Regions from separate parts of the Homo sapiens genome. Here region 2 is linked to region 1. Evidence: promoter capture Hi-C in 16 types of primary human blood cells and fetal thymus (Javierre and others, 2016). All regions are on one chromosome and are shown on one strand. The core of a region is centred on a gene start or on the middle of the fragment in contact, and the rest is flanking DNA. Distances in the headings are between cores, read along the strand shown. Region 1 holds the start of CWF19L2 (CWF19 like cell cycle control factor 2). Region 2 overlaps CHEK1 (checkpoint kinase 1).

Region 1 (6,106 bases), core at 1,647-4,146:
TGGTCTCCCCAAAAATTTATACAAGACTATTAGGCCATAAAAAATATAACAAGATAGCACAAATTAAAATTATAGGAAGAGGCTAGGGGAAGGAGCAAGGATAGGGAAAGGGAAGATGTTGATCAAAGGGTACAAAGTTTTCATGACACTAGAAATAAGTTTTAGTGATCTATTACTGATGACCACATTTAATAATAAGGTATTATCTATTTCAAAGCCATTGAAGAACAGACTTTTAACGTTCTCACCACAAAAAAATAAGTTGATGAGGTGATGGATATGTTCATTAGCTTGACTGAATCTTTCTATAATGTATACATAGATCAAACCATCACACTCTAACCCATAAATTTACACAATTATTATTTGTCAATTAAAAATAATTTTTAAAAAAATTATAGGAAAACAGGCTTGAGACCTAAAAAAATAAAATAAAATAAATACATAAAGCTTAAAATGCATAAATTTTTAGGCCTATAAGCTTGCTATAGTGGGCCAGAAATTTGAAGCTGTCTTCTACTAGCCAAACTCAAATAACAAAACTTGAGTCATAATGTCCAAAATATTACAATATCTTACCTCTGCCAAAGAGATGAAACTATTCAGCAATGCCAACTATGTGATATTCATTTTGTAACTTATGAAAACATTCTATAAAATTATTCATCCAATATTAACTTGAATACGTGCAAAAAAGGACAGATATCCTTACATCACGTAAACCTGTTAGTATTCACCTGTGAGAACTGTTCAATTCTCTCATTCACATCAGGTAGCATCCATGTATCCTCACCCCGAAGTCGCTTAAGTTCTTTACGCCTTTCTTCTTTTTCAAAATTGGCTTTAGCCTACAACCAAAGAAAAAAAAAAGACAAACTGGCAATTGACCCAACTGGGTTTCACAAAAAAAGGAAAACAAAAACCTCTGTCATTTTTATACAAAAATATCCACTCATGAATGAATGTCTATTCCTTGCCAGGGATTTGCTTCTCCAGTGTAAAAAAATAAAAAAATAAATAAATAAACAAAACAAAGCAAAAATCTCTCCTTCTGCATTTCCAATCTCCAGTGATTTGAGTTACCAATCAGAGAGAATCCAGGGACTGAGTCCAGGCCCTCCCATCTCTCTAAGCTCCCTAGCTCAATATGACTTGGAATCCCTTTTCCCTTCACCATTCCCATGGCTACTGCCTTAAGACTTTTGCAACAGTTAGACCTCCACGCCTTCAATATGCAATGCCTGTAGCCCCAATACCCAGCCCCAAAAATGCCTCAGGAAGAATCATCTCTGTATAAAGAAAGGATCATATTGGTAATTTTTATCCATTCTTCAATGATAGTCAAACAAAGCAAGTTTTTCCTAGGAAATCGTTCCTGCCCTCTTTCTTTCCCTGTAACTCCAAAGCTCAGTTTGGTCCTTTTCAAATTCTATGCATATCTCTACTATAAGATTTATCTCAACTTACGAAACTTACTCCCTCCAAAAACTGCTGGAAATACCAAAGAGAAAAGAATGAATAATATATATATACCCACACACACACATTACATATGTTGAAATTACGAAACAATACCAACATTTCACCTACCCAAGACTAATCGCCCACTCTTCCCCTTTAAAACCTGGCTGTAGTCATTTTCTTTTTTTTTTTAATCAAATATAAAAATAATTTATTAAAGGTTTATATCAGAGAACTGCTGAAGCAACAAGAACTAGAAGAGTTAATATTCCAGAAAAGGGAAAATCATGGAGAGGTAGTCCAACATTCTGCAGCTAGCTTTTCCCTGGGTGCATATAATAATTCTTGGTGTAGGCAAGAAGATGAATACAATGGTTATATACCAAACAGAAAAATCGATATCAGAGAAAAGAGCAGGGCTTATGATGGACTCCAAAGAACAGGGTGAGAAAATTGGAGATTAAAGGAGAATGGGGCTGCTTCACCCTCAAATTATTTGCCAAATTTTGAAACTATGTCATTTTCCCTTTAGAGTCTCCTCTCCCTCTTCTCTGCTGGCTCCTTCTCATTTGCATTTAAACTTGTTTAAAACTCTTCCAACTTAAATAAAAACAAAAACCCTCACTGAATTCTCTGTTGCTCTCCAACTGCAACTTTTCTCTTTCATTGCCACACTTCTTACATATTGAATAGATTGTCAGATAATTCAGAAGCTTACTTTCTCCATTCTTTGTATGTTACCTCTATGTATCTGAAGTTTAGTGAGAAATACAATGTTTCGCGATCTTTTGTGACAGGCTAAATATACTGAGATTGGTGTTAACTTTTGTTTGGATTGGTAAGAGCTTACAGTAAGTCTGGAATTGATACCAATAGAGACAGGAGGAGGAAATGTCAAACTGAGTCTATTCAAGTGTGACTTGAATGTGTTTCCGAAAAAGGAAAATCTCATTTCAGATACAGCAGTAGCAATGACTGAGGCTGCGAGACATGCTGGCAGAGTCCTTACAAGCCGCAGGGGACCTACAAAGTGTGCAGTCCGAGTGATAGAAATGTAAAGAATGGGTAACTTAAAAGGTAAAGAAACTTGGAGAAAAAGCGACAGATCTGCCTGAAAAGAGAATTAGCAACTGGCACCTGCCAGAACATCTAAAAAATCGGTAGCTACAAAAGGGTTTACCGGCATTGCAAAGGGAGAACTCACCCAAATTAAGGTGAGATTCAGTACTGACGAGGTAAGGGAAGGGGTGAGTGGGCTAGCTTACGGGAACCCTCAACTCCCACAACAATAAATAACTACAAAAGCCCCAAAACAGAGGTACCTGGCGCAACACCTCGGCCCTGGCATTCCGGGTCTGTTCTTTCCGCTCTTCGATACTCTTCGCACTTTCAAATCTACCACTAGCAGCCGCCATACTTGTTGCCATCGTAAAGCTAAGAAGCCGCAAGAAAATTCTAGTTTACGACGGTCGTAATTTAACAAACAAACCGGGACTTCCGGACCCGAGGAAGGAGGAGCACGGCTCCACCAACAGGGCATGCGCACATCTGAGGTCGCTTAGGGCTCGGATTACCGCAGCCCAGATTTTAAAGACCCGAAGGGTGTTGGAGGGTTTAATTCTTTCAGGTGTTGGGTGCGATTGTGAGCAGGATTAATACCCGTATATATTTATTATGCACTTTTTACTATATTAACAGCTTTCTCACCAATTTCGTCTTAAAATCACCGGAGTAAGTTACAAGCTCTTGGAAGTTAAGTTGGTACCTCTCAAAAGTTTTCTGCGGAAGTACCCTTTGTCGCCAGAGCATCATTTCCCTGTGCTGGAGGAATGGGATAAAGGGAGGCTGCCAGAAAGGTAGTGGCAGCTGGCAGGAAGGACAGAATTGCCTTGAAGATTCAGTGTTTTGTTTTGGTGGATTTTACTTAATATATGAAACACTCATGTGAATTTTGCATTGCACTTCACAATTTACCCGTGCTTAACTTGTTAGAAGTTTACATTATATTTTTTCCTCTGACCCCATATTATTTACTCATACTTATCCATCCAAGCATTTTTCATTACAATGGACAGTTACTTATTTATTTCTGCGGAGATTTCTTTGTTTTGTTTTACGCATGTATCGCCCAAACATAAAACTTTTAAGTTCAGAAGAATAAGACATTCTAAGGTGATGAAGTGCTTTGAGAACATAAGACACTAAGCTTACATTTACAAGAAGAAGAAGGCTGGGGAATTAATTATAAACGATACCTTAAAGACGCTAAAAATAAGTAACATAAGCCAGGTTGAGGTAAATACTCTTTCTCTTCAGGTTTCATAAAATTTAATGTGTGTTTGCAAGAAGCTTTCCAAGAGTTTTTACATTCACTACCATTCTATGAGTCTGAATCTTGAACACACAATGCCTACTTGTTTGATATGCAATAGAAAGTATTCATTTTATTTTAAAATGTAATTTACTAATCGACCTTGTAATATTTAATCAACTGACTACATTGACTGATATTTGTCATAACTAGCATCAACGTCTTTTCAGATTCTCTTGGAATTCAGAAAAACATCCATTTCACTGTTTTGCATCAATTCAATAAAAATAAACTGTGATTATATTAGAAACGTGTGTGTTTTAATCAGTTCAGGCTGCTATAACAAAATATTATAGAATGGATGGCTTATAAATAACAAACAAGTATGTCTTACAGTTCTGGAGGCTGGATAAAATCAAGGTGTTGGGCTATTTGCTGTCTAGTGAAGGTGTGTCCTGGTTCCTAGAGGGCAGTATTTTTGCTGTGTCTCATATGGCGGAAAGGGAGAGGGATCTCTCTAGAACTTCTTTTATAGGAATTCATGAGGGTGCTGCTCTCATGACCTAATCACCTCCCAGAGTCCCTACCTCCATATACCAGCACATTGGGGATTAGATTTCAACATAAGAATTTTGGGGAAACAAACATTCGGTCTAGAGCAATGTGCAAAGTTATATGAAGAAAACTTTAAAATCTTGCATAAGCTCCCCAAAAAGACTAGAACGAATGGAGAGGTATACTATGTGCTTAAAGAAGAAAACATCATAAAAAATCATTTCTCAATTAATTTGTAAATACCATGCAATACAAATAAAACTGCCCAAAAAAAAGTTGGGGTTAGAGAGGGGAACTAGATATGTTAAAATAGAAAAAAGAAAAGAAAAGAAAAGAAAGAAAAAGCAGGTTATTTTGGCTAGGTTTGCATTTGGCCACACCTAATGCGAATCCAGTCACATGGCTTAATCAAATAAAGGATAACGTAACAAGGAGCCTAAAAGTAACTGGTCCAGGCTTGGTGCAATTGCTGAAGGAGCCAAATAGTTTATCCTTTTTCGCTTTGTTGCAGTCTGTGACTTTAGTATTTGTAGTCACAAGCAGGGTATCATATTCTTTCACATCTGTTCACGGCATCTGATAAACAAGAATAAAGAGAAAGGACAAAGGGTAAACGTTGTTAGCTAAGCTGGCCTCATTTTTTATTAGAAAAATGATGGCTTTTCCTAAAGCCTAGTTCAGTTTCTTTCATTTAAATCCTATGATCCAGAAATAGGTCAGATGATCACAATTAACTACAAAAGTTTCATGAAGATTGCAGGATAGTTGTGTTATAGAATGTCACTCAACTTGGGTTTGTCGGAGGTTCTTTTGTGATTAAATTCAAATTTGGCCTCTTAAGCAGGACGATCACAGAAGTGAGGCGGTCTTACTGCATCCTGTTGGGTAGCGCATGATTTCCATTTGTTCCATTACAGGTGATGTTAATTCTGATCATTTAAATAAACTGGCATCTGCAGAGCTTCTCTGCTGTAAAGTACCTCTTTTCCTTCTATAATAAGTATTTTGTGAAGTGGTTCTTTGAAACTATGTAGATCATGTACCAAATTTTCAAGTTATTTATTTTTATATAATACAGATTCATAATTTCTCAGTGGATTCCTGTTTTTGTTCAGTGGGATAAAAATTCGTTATCAGTATTTATTTTGATCCTCAAATTGGTCCAGGTTAGGCCAGTGAGAGCCCTTTCAAGCTGGTTCCTGTGTCCTTTAGACATGTACCCACATTCTTTATATATATATATATATATATATATATATATATATATATATATATATATATATATATACTTTAAGTTCTGGGGTACATGTACAGAATGTGCAGGTTTGTTACATAGGTATACACGTGGTATGGAGGTATGCTGCACCCATCAACCCGTCATCTACATTAGGTATTTCTCCTAATGCTATCCCTCCCCCAGCCCCTCACCCCCCAACAGGCCCTGGTGTGTGATGTTCCCTCTCTGTGTCCATGTGTTCTCATTGTTCAACTCCCACTTATGAGTACATGCGGTGTTTGGTTTTCTGTTCTTGTGTTAGTTTGCTGAGAATGATGGTTTCCAGCTTCATCCATGTCCCTGCAAAGGACATAAACTCATCCTTTTTATGGCTGCATAGTATTCCATGGTGTATATGTAACACATTTTCTTAAACCAGTCTATCATTGATGGGCATTCGGGTTGGTTCCAAGTCTTTGCTATTGTGAACAGTGCAGAGATAAACGTACGTGTGCATGTCTTTATAGTAGAATGATTTATAATCCTTTGGGTATATACCCAGT
Region 2 (6,291 bases), core at 656-3,155, about 18 Mb after region 1:
CGCCTCTGGGGGCAGTTTGGCCCCGCCCCGGCCTTTGGGACGGGTGGGGCTGTGGATGGGGATGGGAATTGGAATTGAGCAATTGGGAGGAGGCGCTGCCGCAGGCGTTTTCTGCCCCATACCGCTCCCTATATCCTCTTCCTCTCTTCCCCAGACCCCCACCTCTCCCTCCTCCTTCCCCAGTCGTTCGCCGGAAAGCATTTGTCTCCCACCTCTTCATAACAACAATTAATTTCCTCTGGGGCCTGAGGAGGGCAGAATTTCAACCTTCGGTGTGCTTGGGAGTGGCGATTGTGATTTACACGACAAAATGGTCAGGTTTAGAATAGTTGTTCGTGGTTGAAAGACTTGGATAAATGTGGATGAGATAGAAGGGGAAGGCAAGAGCTGTTAATTTTCGTGGGCAATCCTGGGGAGAGGCGGGGCTCAGTGGCTTCACTGGTGATCTTACACTCTACATCTTTTCTGGATTCCTGCCTTTTACAGCCGAGGTGCTCGGTGGAGTCATGGCAGTGCCCTTTGTGGAAGACTGGGACTTGGTGCAAACCCTGGGAGAAGGTGCCTATGGAGAGTGAGTTCTTTTAAGCTTGCCTTCGTTTTCTGAGTGCATATTCATTGTTTTGGAGTCTCACACTCTGGTGATTTAGAAAGTAGATGTTTGAGATCCAAGGGTTTTGGCAACTGAAGTTACACAGCCTTTTGCTAGGATTAAAAATTTTTTCCTTCCCTTTAAAAAAAAAAGTTTTCTTTGTAGAGAGCTGGAAGGGACACGAAGTTATTGTTTCCATGCCCACAAATTGCTTCTCAGGGTTTAAGCATTGCGGTTAATGAGCAAATGAGCAGACTCTGGAGATTGCCTGCCTGGTTTCAGATCCTTGCTCTATCACATACTGGTCATTGTTTTGTGATCTTAGGCAAGCTTCTTAATGTCATTGTGTACCTCTCCTTCACTACCTTTAGGGTGGCAATAATCGCATCTACCCCATAGGAGCTTAGGACAGTCAGTTACACAAGCACATATAGTATGGGATTAATGCTCTTAAAAGTATATGAGTAGAACATGTATATATGTGATGTGGCTTAGAATTATCTCAATCTATTTTATGAAGCGTTTATTAAATGACTTGTGTGACAGCATAATGACGTCTTTGGAGGGTTAGCTATTGTATTTCACATTTTAGAAAAGAGTAGTGTGTGTTGAGAACATAGCAGAAACCACTTCCTTGGTTTCTCCTTTGTGGAAAAAGTAATAGAGGTAAAATCGTTTTGGATGAGTCATGTTTAATCTTTGGAAGTTTTAGAAGAAATGGAATTCTGTAATGTTAAAACTCTTTTCCTTTTTAGAGTTCAACTTGCTGTGAATAGAGTAACTGAAGAAGCAGTCGCAGTGAAGATTGTAGATATGAAGCGTGCCGTAGACTGTCCAGAAAATATTAAGAAAGAGATCTGTATCAATAAAATGCTAAATCATGAAAATGTAGTAAAATTCTATGGTCACAGGAGAGAAGGCAATATCCAATATTTATTTCTGGAGTACTGTAGTGGAGGAGAGCTTTTTGACAGAATAGGTATGGAAGAAATTTAAGATAATTATTTTAAACAAGTTTTTAAATTTGTTTTTTAAATCTTGGGCATGCTATTTGGTCGTTGTCCTTTCAAAATTGCTCATGCAACTGTGAAATTGGAATACATTATCTTTAAAAAATTTTTCCACCTGGTGTTAATAACATAAAAGCATATATAGAGTCAATGAAAGAAAACTTCTTTCCCAAGTTATATAAGTGATTTTGATTTAAGATTGGTGTCTTACAGAATTTAAGAGTGACAAACAAGTTTTATGGTACATCATAAATGCAGTGTATCCTAAATGCAATGTATTGCCTACACAATTTTTTCTTTGTAGACATTCTAGTTACATGAAATCATTGTATACATTTTATACATTTACAGATCTAAAATAGCATGCTGTTTCCTCTTGGTTTACATGAAATAATTGAGAATTTTCTAGGATTGCTTTTTGTATATTAAGTAAATTCTATGTTTGCTATTAATACTTAAATATTCGATGTAGAATCAAAGGATTGATATTTCAGAACACTGAGAAGTACATAAAATCTGGATCTAAATTTATAATTTAAATTTATAATTTAAAGCTATTGTATTAAATAAGTTTATCAGTTAAAAACTGATAAAGAGGTATTAGGATCTCCAGTGTGACTCAGGAGAGAGTTGAGGGTAAAAGAAATGGAGTTAATGAGAGAGATCAAAATATAAAAAGATAACTGATAAAAGAACTTTCATAATAAAACTGTTTCACGAAGGACCTCACAGGCATTTGTGGTTTTGTACTGTGAGACTATATGAAGTTTAAATCTGAGCCAGGTGTGGTGGTACATGCCTGCAATCCTAGCTACTTAGGAGGCAGGAGGATTGCTTGAGCTCAAGAGTTCCAGGTTACAGTAAGTTATGATCTCACGCCAGGGCACTCCAGCCTGGGTGAAAGAACAAGACCGTATCTCTAAAAAAAGTTAAATTATAAAAGAAGTATAATCTGTAAAATATTTAGTGAAATTGGCTTAGATTTGCCCAGACTTCCCCTTTGGCATTATATTTCAGGAATGAGAAAAATAATTAGCATAGCATTTAGAAGAAATGGGGGGAATTTCAAGGTTACTAAATAAATCAGGGTTAGTATAAGAGGAAGCAGAGGCTTTGAAGTCATGGCTTGCATTCTTGATTTGGATATTGGTTTTCTCTTTATAATTTTTCTGTGATGACGCCTTTTGCCACCTAACACAGGTAAATGTGAGTTAAGCCCCATATGTGTTAGTGGACTCCTGAATCTTTTGTTGGCATTTGCTTCTGTTTGCCTAAGCACATTTGTAAATGTCTAAGCTTCAAATTAAGAAGCTATGTGGTTGCTACCTGATTATATTTAGTCAATAAACTTACTTTCATATTTGTTTTAGAGCCAGACATAGGCATGCCTGAACCAGATGCTCAGAGATTCTTCCATCAACTCATGGCAGGGGTGGTAGGTATAGTTGTCTATTTCCCTTTTACTTAAAATTAGAGTGAATACATTACATTACCAAATTCTAGTGTGTTTCTCTCTGCATCCCTCTTAGGTTTATCTGCATGGTATTGGAATAACTCACAGGGATATTAAACCAGAAAATCTTCTGTTGGATGAAAGGGGTAAGTTTAGCATTTTATCACTACCTAAAATAAAATAAAATAATTACCTAAATTATTTTAATTACCTAATTATTTTAATATAGCCATACAAGGCAAAATCAAGTCTTTTTGCATTACTGGAATTTCAAGACAAGATCTGAAAAATCAAGGAAATTTTGGAGACTTCGTATATTTGGAAATCACAAGTCTCATTTTGCAATACAAGTGCGGATCAGGTAGAGAAATCTGACCTAGGTGCAAGCCTAGCTCACTATATGTATAAGAATAATTTTTTTTTTTTTGATACAGGCTCACTGTGTTGTCCAGTCTGGGGTGCACTGTATTATCACAGTTCACTGCAGCCTTGACCTCCTAGGCTCAAGCAATCCTACCATCTCAGCTTCCCGAGTAGCTAGGACCAACCACAGGCAGGTGCCACCATGCCTGGCTAATTTTTGATTTTTTGAAGAGGTGGAGTCTTCCTGTGTTGCTCAGGCTAGTCTTGAACTCCTGGACTCAAGCAGTTTACCAGCCTTAGCCTCCCAGAGTGTTGGGATTATAGACGTGAGCCACCATGCCTGGCCAAGAATAGTTTAAAATAATCCTTTAATGGATTAATAAAGGGAAGTTCCTGTGGAATACCCTGGACCTTAGTCTTGTCCTGTTCACTCTTTTTTTATGTATGACGTGGATAAAAATGTAAGAAATTTAGTTATATTTTCTGAATGTCATCAAATTGAGAAGGATGGATAGCGAAAGCTTTAAGCTTACAGGGTCAGAATCAAAAAAGAAATGTCAGCTGTATGAGGCAGTAGTTTTTGTCTGGTTTAATGCTTTATTCTTAGTATTAGAATAGTGCTTAACAAATGGTCAGCTTTTTTTTTTTTTTGAAACAGAGTCTTGCTGTGTTGCCCAGGCTGGAGTGTAGTGACATGATCTCGGCTCACTGTAACCTCTACCTCTCTGGTTCAGGTGATTCTTGTGCCTTAGGCCCCTGAGTAGCTGGGATTACAAGCCTGAGTCACCACACCTGGCTCATTTTTATATTTTTAGTAGAGATGGGGTTTTGTCATATTGGCCAGGCTGGTCTCGAGCTCCTGGCCTCAAGTGATCTGCCTCCCTTGGCCTCCCAGAGTGCTGGGATTATAGGTGTGAGCCGCTGTACCCAGCCTATACATGCTTTTTTCTTATGTGCATATGGATTTTACTTTTTACCCCTTTAAACTGAGTTTATATGACATAAAAATCTTTATTTTTATTTAAAACTTTAAAAATTCAGGTACACAAAAATTCTTATGTATTATAATGAAATGTAAATATATGTATATCAACCCACCTGGTTTAAAAATACAACATTATTCGTATATAAGAATGCTCACAGTGGTGATGTTTTTAATATAGCAGGAAACTAACCCAAATGTCTGTCAACAATAAATTATGAAATGCATGGCTTTTCAAGCCATGTCACAAGCAGTGACACAAGCATGTCACAAGCAGTGACATGGATGAATTTCAGGTATATAATGATGTAGAGCAAAAAGAGACAGTTGCAAAAGAATTCATATGGTCTGATTCTGTTTATACAAAGTTCAAAAATATGTAAAACCTAGTATATTGTTCAAGTATGTAAACATGGAGAAAAAAACATGCAGAAAAGCAAGGGTATAATAAAACCAAATTCAGAATGGTCTAAGAAAGTAGGGGAGGGAATGTATTTAAGGAAGTATTTAAAGATTTCAAAGGAAATAGAGCATTGTTTTTCTAAAGTGAGTGGGTGTTTATTACATTGTTATTCTTTATATCTTGTATTAATATACAAGATATAATTCTTTGTTTCTATTTAATATTTAGGAGTCTTTTAAAAAAAGAAATAAAATGTTACCAGTATTTAATGTCCTCCTGTTTATTTCATCACAAATATATTCTTCCTTTGTTTTTCTAAGAGCTAAACACATTCCTACATTTAAATTTTATTATGTGCAGTTCTCTAACATAGCTGAGTATTATGTTGCAGACATAACAAAGTCCAAGGAATACTATAGTTATCCATTAGTATTTTAAGTGATTACTACTCATAAGTAATTTGAAACTCAATCTCAGTGGTTTGTCCAATAGTGTCATATTTAACTACTGAAAAGATAATCAACTGGGTGCAGTAGCTCATGCCTGTAATCCCAGAGGCTGAGGTGGGACGATTGAGTGATTCTAGGAGTTTGAGACCAGCCTAGACAACATAGACCCTGTCTTTATGAAAAATTAAAAAAAAAAATTAGCTAGACATGGTGGTGCACACCTGGAGTCCCAGCTACTTGGAAGGCTGAAGCAGGAGGATTGATCACTTCAGCCTAGGAGGTCAAGGCTGCAGTAAGCTGTGATCACATCACTACACTCTAGTCTGGGCAGCAGAGTGAGACACTTTCTCAAAAAAAAAAAAAAAAAAAAAAAAAAAGGGTAATCACAGTAGCTACCTCCTAAGTCAGATAGAGGTAAACATTTCATTGGTTTACATATTGTGTGAATGTACTTGATTTTTAAAGAAATCAGTCCCCTATTTTGAGACATTTAAGTTGTTTCTAACTTATAAAATAGGACAGTGATGGCTTCTATCAATTTGTGTAAAAGGCCAATATAAAAATTGCGTCATGCTATAATATTTTTTATGCTATAATATTTTTTATGCCATTAGCCTTTTTGTCCCACTTACACACTATTTCATGTTAGTATGTATAGATATACCTTGTTGATTGTTTTCAAAACCTACCTCCACATTTTCCATTGTACAAATTTGGACATTTATTTACAAATAATATTGCTATGAATATTCTTATGTTTATGAATTTGTGGGATTATTTCTATGGATATAGAAGTGGGAATTGCTAGTTCAAAGAGTGAATGTTTCACAGTTTAGTATGTTTTGCCAAATTGCCCTCTGATAATAGAGGGCCTTTTCTAACTCTTAAGACTGGGTTACATTCCTTTGCTCTAAGATCCTATAGTGCTCTATATTTTTATAACCTTCATAACAGTTTTCTATTGTCAGTCTTCACTAATTTATCTATTACCTGCATTGGCTGGCATAGTGTCTGTCACTAAGTTACAGTAGATATTCACTAA

The links. Contacts are between HindIII fragments. The CHiCAGO score rates a contact against its expected background, and 5 or more counts as called.
Region 2: a contact is called between a fragment that was not itself captured here and the fragment with the promoter of CWF19L2 in region 1, in 1 of 17 cell types (non-activated CD4 T cells). The highest score is 5.2, in non-activated CD4 T cells.

Annotation. Positions count from the first base shown.
Region 1 is chr11:107,454,929-107,461,034 of GRCh38, forward strand. It overlaps CWF19L2 (CWF19 like cell cycle control factor 2), which reads right to left and starts at 2,897. Exons shown (of 18, transcript NM_152434.3): 1 at 2,784-2,897; 2 at 738-848. The coding sequence starts at 2,888. RefSeq lists an enhancer at 2,676-3,181. The HindIII fragment of the contact is 1,493 bases long and covers 2,173-3,665 here.
Region 2 is chr11:125,626,263-125,632,553 of GRCh38, forward strand. It overlaps CHEK1 (checkpoint kinase 1), which reads left to right. Exons shown (of 13, transcript NM_001114122.3): 2 at 487-571; 3 at 1,345-1,568; 4 at 2,970-3,034; 5 at 3,129-3,198. The coding sequence starts at 507. Among named protein-coding and RNA genes, the nearest start is that of CHEK1, 4.2 kb to the left of the region's middle. RefSeq lists enhancers at 393-936, 497-546. The HindIII fragment of the contact is 1,976 bases long and covers 918-2,893 here.